Linked DNA regions of Homo sapiens: region 1 is linked to region 2. Evidence: promoter capture Hi-C in human tissues and cell types (Jung and others, 2019). All regions are on one chromosome and are shown on one strand. Each heading gives the region's core, a stretch centred on a gene start or on the middle of the fragment in contact. The rest is flanking DNA. Distances are from core to core; before and after follow the strand shown.

The links. The method cuts DNA at HindIII sites, captures the fragments that hold promoters and counts their contacts. A contact is called where the count stands out against the background at its distance.
Region 1: a contact is called between a fragment that was not itself captured here and the fragment with the promoter of DEGS2 in region 2, in 2 of the 25 tissues and cell types used here (IMR-90 fibroblasts and liver).

Annotation. Positions count from the first base shown.
Region 1 is chr14:99,839,982-99,844,744 of GRCh38, forward strand. The region is part of intron 1 of EML1 (EMAP like 1); the gene reads left to right. Among named protein-coding and RNA genes, the nearest start is that of EML1, 49 kb to the left of the region's middle. The HindIII fragment of the contact is 5,012 bases long and covers 1-4,763 here.
Region 2 is chr14:100,156,447-100,161,372 of GRCh38, forward strand. DEGS2 (delta 4-desaturase, sphingolipid 2) reads right to left here and starts at 3,199. Exons shown (of 3, transcript NM_206918.3): 1 at 3,060-3,199. The coding sequence starts at 3,141. It overlaps LOC124903380 (a long non-coding RNA gene), which reads left to right and starts at 3,591. Exons shown (of 2, transcript XR_007064330.1): 1 at 3,591-3,685; 2 at 4,862-4,926. RefSeq lists silencers at 2,986-3,045, 3,146-3,545. The HindIII fragment of the contact is 21,272 bases long and covers 1-4,926 here.

The DNA.
Region 1 (4,763 bases), core at 1,180-3,679, 320 kb before region 2:
CCCGCAAGTGGCAGAGCAATGACAGTTAATTGCTTCTCTGTACTGATTGCTTGTATGTTTCTTTTGCTATTGGATACTAATAGGATGACTCCGAATATGACAATAGAGTATAACTATTCCGTGAACAACGTATAATATGGAAAGTCTGCTTTATGTGAAATGTTTATCTGCAAATTATTGAGCAAAGGGTTATTATTTGTTACTGCTTAAATGATTGGTTTTAAACTACTAAATCTGGTAAGTTTTTTTTCTAAATAGCATTTGTGTAATATTTTGGAAAAGGCAAAATGATGTAAAAATTCTATGTGTATTTTACTTAGTACCACAGAAATCTCACTGGAATTAATACCTGTCATTTGGATGGAGAACTCATATGGTGAAAAGAGCCTAGGCTCACAGCTCACCCTCGGCTGGCCACATTCTAGCCGTGCAACCTTAGGCAAGGTGGACCAGAAACTCAGGTTCTCCTACTTCATCTGTGGCATGAGGGTGGCACCTCTGTGGGAGGGCGCTGTGTGGCGTGGGGACACTGGGCATGGGGACACTGCACCACAAAGCTTAGGCCCTGACATACAGCGGCTGGTGAATCAAGGGTGGCTATTATTGTTTTGGTGCTATCATTATCTTAAATAATTAAAGAAAATAAGAACATCTCACGATAAAGGGAACAGATTCTAAGTTAACCTTTTAAAATTACTAGGCCACTTTAACCTCCGGGAATAGCACTCAGATAACAATGTCTTAGTATTACTGGAAGATTTACAGAGTCAAGAGCCTGCTCTTATCCCTGGATACTGAGATAATCACATGAATGGAGAAAAAAGCATGCTTCTCTCACCTTTTAATAGAGTGAAACACATCATGTTACCGGAAACCCTTTTGTTCTGTTTTTTACAGTAAGAGAAAAAGTAATTAAACTTCAAAGTCAGATCTGTAAATAGCTACATGAGGACCTATGGTAAAAGCAGAGCTACAAGGTCTTCTTTTTGCTTCTGAAACTGCGGGTGATGTAGGGGCTGCCCAGACCCATGGCATCCCTTGAAACTCAGAAAGAAGCCAGTGCTTGGCTGGGTTCTCATGAGAGTCAAGTTGGAGCTGGAGGCTATGAGAGGTAACACTTGGCCTGTCCTTTTGCCACTGGTCGTGTGCTGCCAAGTGGGAGGGCTCGTGTGGCATCAAACCATGCCTTATCTTAAGGCTAACATCACATTTCCTCAACTTGGCCAGAGGTGCTGCAGAGAGAGACCTGCACAGTATTTGCAGAATTTGTTCAATAATTATTGTTAATCGTTGATTTCACTGAAGATCAATGTTTGCTTTTTGCTCTTATAAACAAAACAGGAATATTCATAACAATGGATTCTAGTAAGGCTCAAGTACCATTTGTGTTGAGTGTCTGTATGCCGTCATAGTATTAGAAGTTTCATACACGCTAACATTCATCTTCACAGGAACGTCAGAAGGCAGGTGGTATTAGGTCACATAGCTAATAGGGGACAGATTAGGAATTGGCTACTGCTCAGTTTGAATCCCAAATCAGTGCTCTCTCTCTTGTGCCTCTAAAGCCCCAGGACCCAGACAGGGCAGTATAGGTAACCCTTAGCAGACTACTCTCAACAGTGTTTGGCCCTTGACAAAATGCCACAAAGTTGGAACGTGTAGCCCTGAGAAGGGTTGTTGGCAGAGGCTGCAGAGTGGCTTTCAGAGTGGTTGGCCAGCTAAGACATCTGCATCAATGCCTCGCACCACTGGGTGTTCAGTTTTCCCTCTGATTAAATCTTGTCTACCCTGTGCCCATAGAGTCAGCATGTGCTGCGAGATCACAACGTGGGAGATCGTTCCCCAATACTGAGATAGAGACACCGCCCCATAGACGCAGTTACACACTGCCATGTGTAAACAGATCAGGAAAGGAGCAGGTGCCCAGCCCAACCGGAGCTCCAGTTCACACAAAAGTTTTAGAAAACCCAAGAGGTAAAAGTTTAGAGAATATTGTCTTCTTCAAACCTCCCTCTAACACTGTAAAGTGATAATAGACAAGAATGTAAAAACTTGGGGGAAAAAAAGCTAAAGCTCAATTATTGACACTGTTTTAATGACCTCCACAGATAGATTTGAGAGGTATAGGAGCAAAAATGACTTTAAAATAAATAAGTTGTTAAAGTTTTATTGGTGCTGCATTCCCAACCTGAGGTTTTCTTTGATGAAATTCAGATGAAGTTTCACATCTTGTGCTGTGGAATCCTATGAAATGCTTAGAGATTCAAATGGTTTGTGTTGGTTAAAGCAAGCTTTAGGCTTTGTTCTTCATTATGCTAATCAGTTTTTCCCCCAGCTTAATTGAAGTGTAAAGTCATTTGAACAACACTGGTCTTTTCTGTACACAAGAAGGTTAAGAACCTCAGACAGCTCATGCTGCTGCCAAGAAGTCTCCCAGTCGTATTCTTCAGATTAATTACCTGCAGAAACAGAAGTAAGAAAATCCATTACAGGTTAAAGCAATGATTTTGGCAGGATCTGAAAAGCACTAGGATTATGTCATGGGGAAAACTTCAGCAAATCTCACAAATGGGGGCTCTCCTAAGCAGATCTGACATTTCAGTTTTTAACCATTTGTATTTGAAGGCAAATATTGAGGTGGTGGGGGTTTTTATTAAAATATTAAAATCAAACTTTTTCCTATATAAATTCAGCAATATAATTTAAATATTCTGATTTGTGCAGTTTTATTAAAGCCACTGAGACCACAGTGATGCTAAAGTTTTTGAATGCAGGGAGCAGGCCAGTCTTGCCTTACTCTGTATGTTGTTTTATAATATTGATTTGAAAATGCAAGGTTATACTACAGAGACCAACTTTTTCCTCCTCAATCCTGTGCTGGCAGCCACAATAAATGTGCTTGAGTCCCAGCAGTGAGCGTGTGTGCCTTCTCTAGAAGCTGCTGTCTGCACGAACAACCCAAAAATGTCATAGAAATGCACAGTTCTAGGCTGGGTGTGGTGGCTCATGCCTGTGTAATCCCAGCACTTTGAGACGCTGAGGCAGGATAATCGCTTGAGGCTAGGAGTTCAAGACCAGCCTGTGCAACATAATGAGACCCCATCTCTATAAAAAGTTTAAAAATTACCTAGATGTGGTGGTGTGCATCTGTACTTCCAACTACTCGGGAGGCTGAGATAGGAGGATTGTTTGAGCCCAGGTCAAGGCTCCAGTGAGCTGTAATCGCACCACTGCACTCCAGCCTGGGCAACAGAGTGAGACACTATTGCTAAAGAAAAAAAATAAATGCATGAGTCTATGCTACAGATTCTTTCATGATTTAAAAAGCAAATATTATTAATTATGCACTAATTTCTAATTATTCAGTGCTAATTTGCATAACCGTTGAGACAGCACATAGGAATTTTGTTAAACTTGGATTTGTTTTGGTAATTTTTATTGGAAACAACAATAGTAACAATAACTTAATTACAGCTTATATTTATTTATACATGCACTATATGCAAAAAGTATTCTAAGTACTCTAAATGTGTCAACTCATTTAATATTATAACAACCCTATGAAATACTCTTGTTGCACCTGTTTTATACATAGAGGCAGATAGAGATTAAGTAGTTTGTCCTAGGTCATGTAGCTAGTAAGTGGCAGAGCTGGGATTTGAACCCAGGTAGCTTGACTCCATAGTCCGTGCTCTTAAAGACTGAAGTCTATGCCTCTTCTGCCAGTGCTGTCAACACTGACTTAGCTCTAGAATGTCTTCTCCTACCTTAGTAGAACTCTCCCTGCCTTCCGCCTGAGGCCAGAGACCTTCCCAGGTAGGTGTGTGTTGACCCAGCGTCCTACACAATGGTTGTTACACCAACCTGACTCTGCCTTCTTTTATTCACACATTAGAAGATTTCACTGAACTGTTTAATTACTCCTCAGAGGGAAGACAGATATAAAATACCTTCTTATCTTCCCCACTTCTCTCTCCCAGTGGCATGACATTTTGAAGTGAGATTTTCTTTCCCTCCTATCCAAAGTCAAAGGAGAAATGGAGAAATTCCACAGAACTACTGTCCATTCACAAGAAGTTACATAGCACTTAAGGACAGTCTCTTTCCCTTGAGCAATAAGTACTTAGTTTTCATTGAAATATTTCTCTGCTGAGCTCTCATAGTATAATAGCAACCAATCCCAACAAGCAAAAATAACTTGTAAATTTGCAAAACCAGGCCAGGCGCAGTGGCTCACACCTGTAATCCCAGCACTTTGGGAGGCCGAGGCGGGCGGATCACAAGGTCAGGGGTTCAAGACCAACCTGGCCCACATAGCGAAACCCCGTCTCTACTGAAAATACAAAAATTAGCCGAGCATGGTGGTGTGTGCCTGTAGTCCCAGCTACTGGGGAGGCTGAGGCAAGAGAATCACCTGAATCTGGGAGGTGGAGGTTGCAGTGAGCTGAGATCATACCACCGCACTCCAGCTTGGGCAACAGAGTGAGACTTTGTCAAAAAAAAAAAAAAAAAATTGGCAAAACCAATGAGTGGACCTTATCTTACTTAAATGCTCATAAAATTACTTTATTTTATATGTTAACATTCAATAAAAACTGTCATTTTTGAGATAATTCTATGTGTTTTAACAAAGTATGGTTTAATGTAACAACCACCACTAAGGATATAGAACATTCCAATTACCTTCAAAATTCCCTTGTGCAGTGTCCCCAACCCAGCATTTGGCAACCACTGATCCATTCTCCTTCATTACAGTTTTGTCT
Region 2 (4,926 bases), core at 1,949-4,448:
TCCTGGAATAAGCACTTTACATATCACCTCGTTTAATCTGCACAGCAGCCCCATTAGGAAGGTATGATTTATTAACCCCTTTTCATTTGCCCAGGCCCCAACTCCTTCATCTGTTTACAGACTCACCCGTGGCTAATAAGTGGGTGTCAGGGTCCTTGCCAGGGGTTCAGCTCCACAGCCAAGCTCTTGAACTGTGCCCCAAAGAGCCCAGAGCCCAGAGGGCTTGGAGCCATGGAGGGGAACCCAGAGGAGGGGTCCCCATCCAGCTGGGCCAGGTCTGGGAGCAGTGGAGGGGCTTTCTGCAGGAGGTGGGACTGAACTGAGCGAGCAAGGCTAAGCAAGACAGAGCCTGGCAGAGCAGGGAGGAGGGACATTCACCTGGGGGAACAGCTTGTGCCGGGGAGGGAGGGAATGGCACATTCCAAATTTATTAGCTGAAAACAACAGGTGGAAAGGAAGCCCCTGCTTCCGCCCTGCAGGAAAGGGAGCGTGGACCAAGCTGGAGGGCCCGCCCTGAGGACTTGTGCTCCCCAAGCCCTGGCCCCAGGTGCCTCTCCCTTTTCCAAGTCTTTCAACCTTCCTAGCCACCACCTCCAGAAAGCCTCCTGGATTGGTTCCAGGGCCTGTGGCTTCCCTCTTTAGAGAGAGCTCCTTCCCCACGTCCTGGAGGGCCAGGTACCACCTCGGGCACCTTCCCAGCTGAGATATCATCTCATCCTCACACCTACTCTGCCTGGTAGGACGACTGCCCGTTTTGCAGATTGGGAAAGTGAGGCCACAGCCCAGAGTGTCTGGATCCCTCCAGGTGGCCCTGAGGTAGGCCCAGCTCCTATTCTATGGATATGAGCTCCTAGGGACCAGGACACTGGCTGCCATGTGCCTCTTGCCTTTTCCACATGGTGCCAGATACCCAATGAGTCCTGTGAAGTGAAGCTGGGGATAGCCAGGGGAGGGGACAGAAATGCAAACAGGGCCAAGGAGGCCCCTGCTCCAGCCTCAGCCCCACCTCAGACCTGCTGAGGGGCAGTAGCCAGGACACCTGCCCTGTTCACATGATGAGCAGGGAGGGAGGGTCAGATGACCCCCAAGGTTCCTCCCAGCCCTCCCCAGGAGTTCCACAGCATACGGGAGGCAGCTACCACTGCTGGGACCAGACGATGCTGGGCTGCAGCTCACCTCCCAGGAGAAACCACAGCAGTCACAAACCCACATAGAGGCTTCCAGCTCCTGAGGCCCCAGTTACCCCGGGATGCAGTCACAGGCTAGCCACCCAATGTATCTTGGGTTTCAAACATTTAAAAGTCATGGTATCTCAGTATGCTGCCATGGGATTAAAAAAAGAGGAAGAAAGAAAAAGTTGGCTGGGCGCAGTGGCTCACACCTGTAATCCCAACAGTTTGGGAGGCAGAGGCGGGTGAATCACCTGAGGTCAGGAGTTTGAGACCAGCCTAGCCAACATGGTGAAACCCCATCTCTACTACAAATACAAAATTAGCCGGGTGTGGTGGCGGGTGCCTGTAATCCCAGCTACTCAGAAGGCTGAGGCAGGAGAATCGCTTGAACCTGGGAGGCGGAGGTTGCGGTGAGTGGAGATCGCATCACTGCACTCCGGTCTGGGCGACAGAGCAAGACTTCCTCTCAAAAAAAAAAAAAAAAAAAAAAAAAGTTGTTCAGGCCAGGCGTGGTGGCTCATGGCCCATGCCTGTAGTCCCAACACTTTGGGAGGCTGAGATGGGTGGATCCCTCGAGCTCGGAAGTTTGAGACCAGCCTGGGCAACATGGCAAGACCCTGTTTCTAGTAAAAATACAAAAAAAATAGCCGGGCATAGTGGTACACACCTGCAGTCTCAACTACTCAGGAGGCTGAGGTAGGAGGATCAGTTGAGCCCAGTGGGGAGAGGTTGCAGTGAGCTAAGATCGCGCCTAGCCAACATGGTGAAACTCCATCTCACTACAAATACAAAAATTAGCCGGGTGTGGTGGCAGGTGCCTGTAATCCCAGCTACTCAGAAGGCTGAGGCAGGAGAATCGCTTGAACCTGGGAGGCGGGGGTCGCAGTGAGCCGAGATCGCGAGACTCTGTCTCTAAATAAATAAATTAATTAAATTAAATAAAACGCCCGATTAAAATGTGAAACCTCCATCAAATAAGTGCAAATTAAAGCCACAGTGAAATGGTATTGTTTCCCCAATCTGACTGAAGATTACAAAGTGTGGCAACGCGCGGTGCTGACTTAGGCAGGGCGGGAGGGGCGGGCCTGTCTCAGCCTGTGGCGATTTGGTGGCATCTGGCAAAAGCCACTCTCCAGACGCAGGCCCTTTAACCCCGTAAGCCCGGGCCAAGGACGACTCACCGGGGCCACCTTGCTTGTGGGTGGGATGGGGCCTCTGGCATGAACGAGAGTGACTCCGAGTGGGTAAAGATGCCCTCCTCGCAGAGGACACGAAGCAACAAGGAAAACAGCCACCACGTAATAAGCGACATGCCAGAATAGAAGGATTCTTTAGTACAATCTTTGCTTTTTTCAAAGAAAACACGCGCGCCTCTCATTCGCGTTTGCTCCCTTCCCGGCGCTCATCCGCCCTGAACTCCAGCCTGGGGCGCCCGTGGCCGCGAGACCCAGGGGCTCTGAGCGCAGCAGGCGCCCAGTGACTGCGGGTGGAGGCCCCGCGTCGCGCAAGCTGCCTCCGCGCCAGGGAGCGCGTGCGCCTCGTAGCGCGTCCCGGGGCCGCCCCTGCGCCCTCGCGTCCCAGCATCCCAGAGCCCCGGCCCTGGCCCCGGGAGTGGCTCGCGAGGAACAGCTGGGACGCGCTCCCTGGCGCTCGGACCCGTACTGGGGTCCTCGGAATCCTCAGGTCCCAGGGAGTTTCAGACCCGGCCAGGGTGGGGGACCCTCGGGGAGCCGGCCGGGGACCCCAGGGAGGGGAGCGGCAATGGCGGAACGCCCACTGGAATTTGGGCCAGAGCTGGAGCGGCCCGTCTGGGCTCGACCCCACGACGCGACTCCAGACGGGCCAACGGGGCGGTCCCCACCGGGGTGGGCCCCGCGCGGCGCTCACCCAGTATCTCCTTGCGCCGCTGCGTGTGCGGCTGGTCGGTGTAGACCCACTCGAAGTCGCTGCGGCTCGCGCTGTTGCCCATGGTGGGGCGGGAGGCGCCGTTCGGAGCGCGGCCGGCTCGGCTCTGCTGCACCTGTCGCGGCGGCCGCGGCGCGGAACCAGCTCTGATTAGGGCGGGGGCGGGGTCCCGGCGGGGCGGGGCCAGGTGCGCCAGGCTTGGGGCGGGGCACCTCTGGCTGGGCGGGGCGGCCGGGCCCCGGCGCTCTCCAGACCCCGGCGGGTAGCTGGCGCTTTGGGAACCTCAGTTGCCTCGGTTGGAAATGGGGCTCCCCGGCAGGACCGAGGTGGCCGCGTGCCATCTGCGCGAGTCCCTGGGTCCCTCGATGCGCGGGGGCGACTGCTGCCACCGCGGCCTCCCACCGGCTCTGCGCGCCCCGCCCACCCGCGGGCAGCCGTCGGGTTTTTACCCCGGCCCGTTCTCTCCGCAGCCCCGACCCGCTCGCGGGCACGCCCCTGTGGCTCGCGCCGCCCCTGCCCCAAGGAGGAGCGGCTGGCAGGATAGGGGGACTGCGGAGGATCGGCGTGGAATGGATGCGACGGTGCCAGTAAACAGGCGCCGAGGAAAGGTTGGTGCAGCAATCCTCCCTTCCTCCACCCGGCCCTTTCACCAATAATGCAAAGGGGAGATAATGCGTCTGCAGCAACCTCACAGGGATGAGTCAGACCCACTCCTGCCTTCAGGGAACTTGAGTTCTGGATGGGGACACAGGTACAGAAGTGGCTGTTATGATTCAGGGTGATACGTGCCATGACACAGGTAGGCCCTGAAGCAGCTAGGATCCAATAGAAGGAACTTTTGCATTGGGCCTTGAGGGGTGGGTAGGAGTTCAACAGCTAGAAAAGGGAAAGGCATTGGTGCTAGGGGGAACAGCAGATGCAAACGCTTGGAAACAAGGCAGAACCTGAATGTTCTCAAATGGAAAGTCTAGTTTTGGGGAGGTAAGGGCACAGGGCCCCTCATCTTCACCCTCTCAGTGATGCCTCTGTTCCTTCTCCCACTCCCTTGGAGTTTTGGAGGGTGGACCTGCTGTGCCTGTGGGCCAGAGCCTGGCCTCGGCTGGCAGTTGCCTGGGAGCTGACTGACACATCAGCCAGCGCTGCCACAGGCTCGCACATAGTGAGGGCGTGCTTCTGTGCGTCCCATGGAAGTCCATGGCCCGGGGTTTGGTACACTTGGCAGGCCTTCCTTAGCTCAGGGCCAAAGGCAGTCCTGAGTGAGCCAGGAAGGAAGGCATGGGTGTCCTGCAGCCGCCAGCCACCATCCCCTGAATTAGCCATGGGAAAGGTGGACACAGAGGCCAGATTTTCCATCAGCAGGGGGACCCACATGCCACCATGGCCATCACCCCTTGCCACACCCAGGAGGCCTCCCGGCCCAGCTTGCACCCTTGGGAGAAGACTCATTGCTCCCAGGGCAGCCTGCTCTGTTCCCAGCCAGAAGGGTCCTCAGAAGTCATCCCACCAGCCATCACTTTACAGATCAGGAGACTGAGGCCCAGAGATGAGGAGCGCCTTGCCTGAGGCACAGAGGAATTAACAGCAAGGCTGGGGCATGACTTTGGCCCCTGACCTTTGAATTAAAAAGCTTCCAAAATCAGAGCCTTCGCCCCTGTGTTGAACTCCGTGAGATCTGCCGCCCTGAGCCCCAGCTCCACCCTCAGGACAACACCAAGCCTGCCAGTTCCCTCTGCCCCAGGCCACCGCCTATCCAGAGGAAACTCACCAAGGCCCTCATTTTCCAGATGAGGAAACTGAGGCCAGAGAGGGGACAAGTCAGAGGACATGCTGAAGAAGACCTGGGAGTGGA